Linked DNA regions of Homo sapiens: region 1 is linked to region 2. The links are contacts of gene promoters, found by promoter capture Hi-C in blood cells and fetal thymus (Javierre and others, 2016). All regions are on one chromosome and are shown on one strand. Each heading gives the region's core, a stretch centred on a gene start or on the middle of the fragment in contact. The rest is flanking DNA. Distances are from core to core; before and after follow the strand shown.

Region 1 (2,758 bases), core at 1-2,500, 160 kb before region 2:
GGTGACACCTCCACCCTCCCCTCTTCCTGCCCGCCTGAGCCCCCCTGGCCCCTTCACACCCTCCCCACTACCCCTTACAGAAACACTGACCACATGGGCCCCCGGGCAGGAGCTGAGAGGGTGTCCGGGATCCCCCGAGCCCCAGAATGTTTCCTAATGGATGACAAGGGGTGGGGCGGGGCCCTGCAGTACTTAGTCGAGGTACAGGAGGTGGCCCTGATGCCAGAGATAAGGATGAGGGGCCGCCGTGCCTGCAGGTGTAAAGGGCAGCTGGGTGTGGTCAGTCCCTCCTGGGTGGATGGGCCTCCATCCATCCCTCAGCCCCGCTACACAGGGGTTGCCTCGATTACACTGAGTGGACACAGACAACTCCCAGCGTCTGGGTCTGATTCCTCCTTTATTGGTGCCAAGTACCACCCCTCCCCCTCTCCCCCATCCTGCCCCCCACCCCAAATGCAGCTGCGCTCCTGGGCCGGGCAGGTGGTGAGGGGGTTCCTTCCTCATCTGGGCCGCAAGGTTCCTTCTGCAGCAGCGCCAGCTGGTTCTGAAACCATAGGCCCAGGGGGCAGCCAGGGAGACCAGGTCCCGTCCAGGGGCATCCTGCAGAGACAGCACGTGAGGGTCTGAGGGCTGGGGCTGGAGACCCCGGCCCCGCTGCTGGAATTGGGCCTCCAGTGGCCACCAGCGCTGACCCGGGGAGGCCAGGACAGAAGGAGGGGTCTGGGGTGGGGTCTGGAGTGGGGTCTGCGGTGGGGCGGGTGCTCACCAGGCCTGCAGGATGGGCATGTTGGACCCTGACGGGCAGAGCAGACCCGCGCTGAGCCTGGTCCAGGCCATGCTGTTCTCTGCGTCCTGCTCGCTGCCCCCCGCCCCAAAACAGAGTTAGTCCTGGAGCTGGGGGGTCGCGCGTTGCTGCTGGGGCACCACGCCAGGACCCCCCACCCCACCCGGCCTCACCTGCGCTTCCCCACCAGGCCCTGTAGCAGCCGCTGGAGCCGCGCGCCCTCCCGCAGGCGGCTGAGCTCGCTGGTGAACGTCCCGTCTGAGTGTCGCCGGGCCCTGCGGGCGGTCGGGGGTCGGGGTCAGGGCGCACTGGGGGCGGGTGGGGCCCGGGGGGCGGGCGGGCCTGGCGGGCGGCTCACCTGGGGGGCGCGGGGCGCGCGGCGGAGCCCCCGAGGAGCAGCAGCAGCAGCAGGAGGGGCCGGGGGGCCATGGCGGGGTCGGGGCGCAGGAGCTGAGCGCTGCGGCCACGGCCCCGGGCCCCCGCAAGGCCCCTTTATGGCGGCGCCCGGAAAGGGGACGGCCCGGCCGCGCCCAGCGATCCCGGGAAGGTCAGGGCCGCCCCCCCAGCTGTCGCCCCGGCCCGGCCTCCCGCCCCCTCCGCCGCGCTGGCGCCCCTCGGCCGGCTGGGGGAGGGGGACGTCCCGGCCTGGGGGGCGAACGGAGCGCGGGCCTGGGACCCGCAGAGGGAACCGCACCGCGAAGCCTCGGAGCCTGCGGGGGCGGAGGGGCCGGAGGGCTTGGGGGAGGGTTTGGGGGGGGACTGGGGGGCCCCGGGGAAGGGGCTGCGGCCGGAGTTCCGGAGGCCCCTGGAGCACCTTGCTGGGGCGAGTTCGTCTCCAGCTTCAGCGTGGCGTGACTGTTGGGGGGCCGGTGTTGCCATTTTATCTGCTTTGAAGTGCGCGATTCAGGATCATTCGGTGCATCCATCCCCACCATCCGTTCTCAGACTTTCCCGTCCTCCCAAAATCCGTTCACAGACGCTCCCGTCCTCCCAAAATCCGTTCACAGACGCTCCCGTCCTCCCAAAATCCGTTCACAGACGCTCCCGTCCTCCCAAAATCGTTCACAGACGCTCCCGTCCTCCCAAAATCGTTCACAGACGCTCCCGTCCTCCCAAAATCGTTCACAGACGCTCCCGTCCTCCCAAAATCCGTTCTCAGACTCTTCCGTCCTCCAAAAATCCATTCTCAGACTCTTCCGTCCTCCCAAAATCCGTTCTCAGACTCTCCCGTCCTCTCAAAATCTGTTCACAGACGCTCCCGTCCTCCCAAAATCCGTTCACAGACGCTCCCGTCCTCCCAAAATCCGTTCACAGACGCTCCCGTCCTCCCAAAATCCGTTCTCAGACTCTCCTGTCCTCCCAGAATGAAGCTCTGTCCCCATCAAACGCCCCCTCCCCTCCTCAGCCCCGGCGCCCCGTCCACTTTCTGTCTGTGGATTCAGCGCTTCCAGGGACTGCGCGCAGGGGGAGCCTCACGGGATTTGTCCTTTGGAGACCGGCTGGATTCTCAGCGCAGCATCCTCCGCCTTCGCCGCCGCGGCCTGGCCTGTGTGGGAATCTCCTTCCCTTTTGTGGGGAACTGTGTCCCGCTGTGTGCAGGGACCGCATCGACCGCGTCCGCTCATCTGTGGGCATCTTGATGGACACCTGGGCTGCCTCCCCTTTGGGGCGACGGCGAGTAACGCTGCTGTGAACGTGGGTGTGCAAACGGCGCTTCCCGATCCCGTTTTCAAGCGTTCTTGGTGTATAGTTATGAGGGAATTGCTGGGTGACAGAGTAATTATGTGTTAAATATTCTGAGGAAACGCCAAACTGTCTTCCCAGCAGCGCAGCAGGGACACGGTTCTTGTCCTCGCCAACACTTGCTACTTTGTGGCTTTTTGTTTGTCGCGTACTAACGATGCCGGTGGGTGCGACGTGGTGTCTCGCTGCGGTTTTGATTGGCATCTCCCTAATGGCCAGCGATGTGGAGCA
Region 2 (2,878 bases), core at 304-2,803:
CGGGCTTGGGGCTGCTGGCTGACTTCCCTCTGGACTCCATGGTGGGCGGGGCGTATGGGACAGGCAGGTGGCTGCACCAGAGGGGCTCAGGACAGTTTGTCGCCCCTGGGCATTCTATGGGCCTGGAGGGAGACACAAGGGAGGCTGCGCGCGGGTCCAGTCCCCCCTGTGCTGCCCCGACCACCTGGTCCCCAGGCAGCCCCTGCCCAGTTCTCTGGACTCTCTGGAGCCCCAGCTCAGGGGCCTCCCGTGGGCCTCTGACACTTCTCTTTCACGGCCTGGACTCCATCTGTCCATGACCACTCCTCAAGGGGCCCCTCCAGCCGCAGAGGCAAGGGCCACGCACAGGTGGGAGGAGGTAGGGGACCCCACTGTGCTCCATAAAATGGCCCATGCAAATGCCACATCCTCCCACCAGCCGGGGGCAGGAGGCTCTTGGTGGGGAAGTAAGGATCAGGCCCAGAGAACTCGAAGGAAGAGCATTCTCCCCTCCAAGGAGGTGATCGGAGCCCCAGTGGGAGAGCTGACTGCATCCCCTCCTCAGGAGAGCATTCCTGCTTTGCAGAGATGGACACTAAAGCACGGAGGCTGTGACCTGGCCAGGGTCCCAGGGGGAGGAGGGCGGGGAGGGGCAGGAGCTGGGATCTCAGGCAGCCATCAGGGTGGGTGGGCCCACAAGAACCCAGACTTGAGAAAACTGGGGTGTCTCTCCAGGAAGTCAGCGTGGGGCTGTGCTTCCAAGGGCCGTCTGCCCCTCCCCAGCCTCTGGGGCCCCCTCCTCAGCATGGGCCGTGCCTGCCTCCAGCCCTGGAGCAGGGAGTCCTCGCCCAGCCCAAGGCTGTGCTGTCTCTGTGGGCAGAGGGTTCCTGGCGTTAAACAGGGTGGGCACATGCTGCACTTGGCCCGCGGGTCAGGGCGGAGGACAGGGTTCTGGGCTGTGGGAAAGGCGGTGCCCAGATTCTCAATGACCGAGGCAGAGGTGGGAAGGGCCCTGGGGGCCCAGCCGCCCTGAACCTGAGTGGGTCTTGCCCCAAAGCCCCAGAGGCCGCCTGTCTGCCTCTCCCAGGGAAGGATGAGAAATGCCCTCCAGACCTGCAGAGAAAGGGAGGCACGTTCCCCACCCCCCGCCAGGTGCATTGACCACACTGAAGGTCACCCGAAGGTCACAGCATGATGAGGGCGTCTCCAGAAGAGGCCCAGCTGCTGCCACCTCCCAGGGAAGCCCAGCCGTCCCTTCACCCCTGCAGTTCTCGGGGGGCTCAGCTGCTGGGCATCAAGTTTGCAAAGAGCAGGTGGTCTGCCCCCCCAACCTCGCTATTTGTGGCACTTACATCCCGGCCGCCGCCTCCCTCTCCCGGGATCAACTGAGCCCTGGAGAACTGGGGGGCCCGCGCGCAAACCCAGTGACCTTCAAGGCCCGGAGCCGCCTCCTCGCCCCGCAGGACGCCGCGCCCGCCCCGCCCGCCCCGCCCGCCGGGAGCCCCCCGCCTTACGCGTCCTCCGGCCTCCCCGGGGCTGCGCGCTCCTCCGCGGGATGACGGCGGCTGCGAACGCGGAGGAGAGCTCGGGAGTTTCCCACAATGCACTGCTCCCGGCGCAGGAGGGCGGGGAGGGGGAGGGGCGACCGGGCCCCGCCCCGCCGGGAACCGTGGGATCCGCAAACCCAGCTCCGCCTTAGATCCAGGGGTAGAAACTTAGGGTCCGAGAGAGCAACTGCGGGGTCCAAGTCCCATCTGGGACTGCCAGAGGCAGGAGGCGGGTCCCGCTCAGCATCCCCTCTAGGCCAGGGTGCCCCTTGGTCGGTGGGTGACGGGTCGGTGGGTGAGGGGTCGGTGGGTGGGTGCGCAGGCCTAGCCCTGCAGTCTGAAGGGAGCCAGTTATGGGAAGAGGGGACTGCCCTCCCCCGCCCCCAAACAGACCCCCAGACAGACAGCAGCATCTACTTAGAATATTTATTTATTCTCTGACATGACAAGACACAAAAAGTTACAACTTCTTAAAACTCTTCAAAAGAAAAAAATATAATTCTGTAAGCAGCAGCAGCAGCTTCCAAGGTTCTGATGTGACGGGAGGGGCAGCTCCCAGGAGCAACCGTGAACTGGGGGGGTCCAGGCCTGAGCCCCAGGTAGTGTCGCTGGGAAGGGGCCTCTGTGGAGGGCCCCGGTTTTGGGGACACAGCACCAGCACATCAGGGTCTGTCACCAACACGATCACATGGCCAGGGCGGGGCAGGGAGAGCTTCGGCTCACAGCAGGGATCGCCCGGTGGCAGGGGGGATGGGGCTTCTGAAGTGTGGTCAGGGGCCTTATGCCCGGAGGCGGGAAGGATGGGGCTTCTGCAGTGTACCCAGGGGCCTTATGCAGAGGCTGAAAAAGGAGGGTGGGCCCTGAGAGGACTTGGGGGTGTGGCAGCTCCTGGCCCTCCCTCCAGAGCAGGGCAGGCACCCTCAGGCTCCACACTGGTCCCAATGCCCGCCCTGCTCCCTGGCCAATCCCAGGCCAGGGTGGAGGACTCAGGAGAGACCAAGCTGGGTAAGTTAGTTCCTGGACGGGGTCAACAGAGCCTGGGGCACACACAGCACACAGAGCGCCTGGCCACGGCGGGAAGGGGGGCAGTCCCCAGCAGCCCCATCCCCAAGGGCCAGGCCAGATCCCCACAACACACACACGCATGCACACACACATACACACACACATGCACACAGACCTCACAATCTGGGCCCCAGCCTGGGGTGGGAGCTGAGGAGCCCACCAGAAAGTCCCACAGTGGGTGGCGGGCTTGCCCCAAGAGTCAGACCTCAGGGCAACCCCTCACTTGGGATTCCTGGCTCAACAGAGAGGGCAGGAGACCCCAGTCCTCTTGCAAGGCTGGCCAGGGA

The links. The method cuts DNA at HindIII sites, captures the fragments that hold promoters and counts their contacts. A CHiCAGO score of 5 or more calls a contact.
Region 1: the fragment with the promoter of SCT here is called in contact with the fragment with the promoter of CEND1 in region 2 in 2 of 17 cell types (monocytes and neutrophils); the score reaches 5.8 in monocytes.

What each region holds. Positions count from the first base shown.
Region 1 is chr11:625,931-628,688 of GRCh38, forward strand. It overlaps SCT (secretin), which reads right to left and starts at 1,251. Exons shown (of 4, transcript NM_021920.4): 1 at 1,143-1,251; 2 at 958-1,059; 3 at 767-859; 4 at 379-600. The coding sequence starts at 1,213. The coding sequence ends at 501. RefSeq lists an enhancer at 785-1,285 and a silencer at 879-1,173. The HindIII fragment of the contact is 5,281 bases long and covers 1-2,758 here.
Region 2 is chr11:788,537-791,414 of GRCh38, forward strand. CEND1 (cell cycle exit and neuronal differentiation 1) reads right to left here and starts at 1,554. Exons shown (of 2, transcript NM_016564.4): 1 at 1,494-1,554; 2 at 1-122. The coding sequence starts at 40. SLC25A22 (solute carrier family 25 member 22) reads right to left here. Exons shown (of 10, transcript NM_001191061.2): 10 at 1,939-2,878. RefSeq lists a silencer at 1,465-1,694. The HindIII fragment of the contact is 25,064 bases long and covers 1-2,878 here.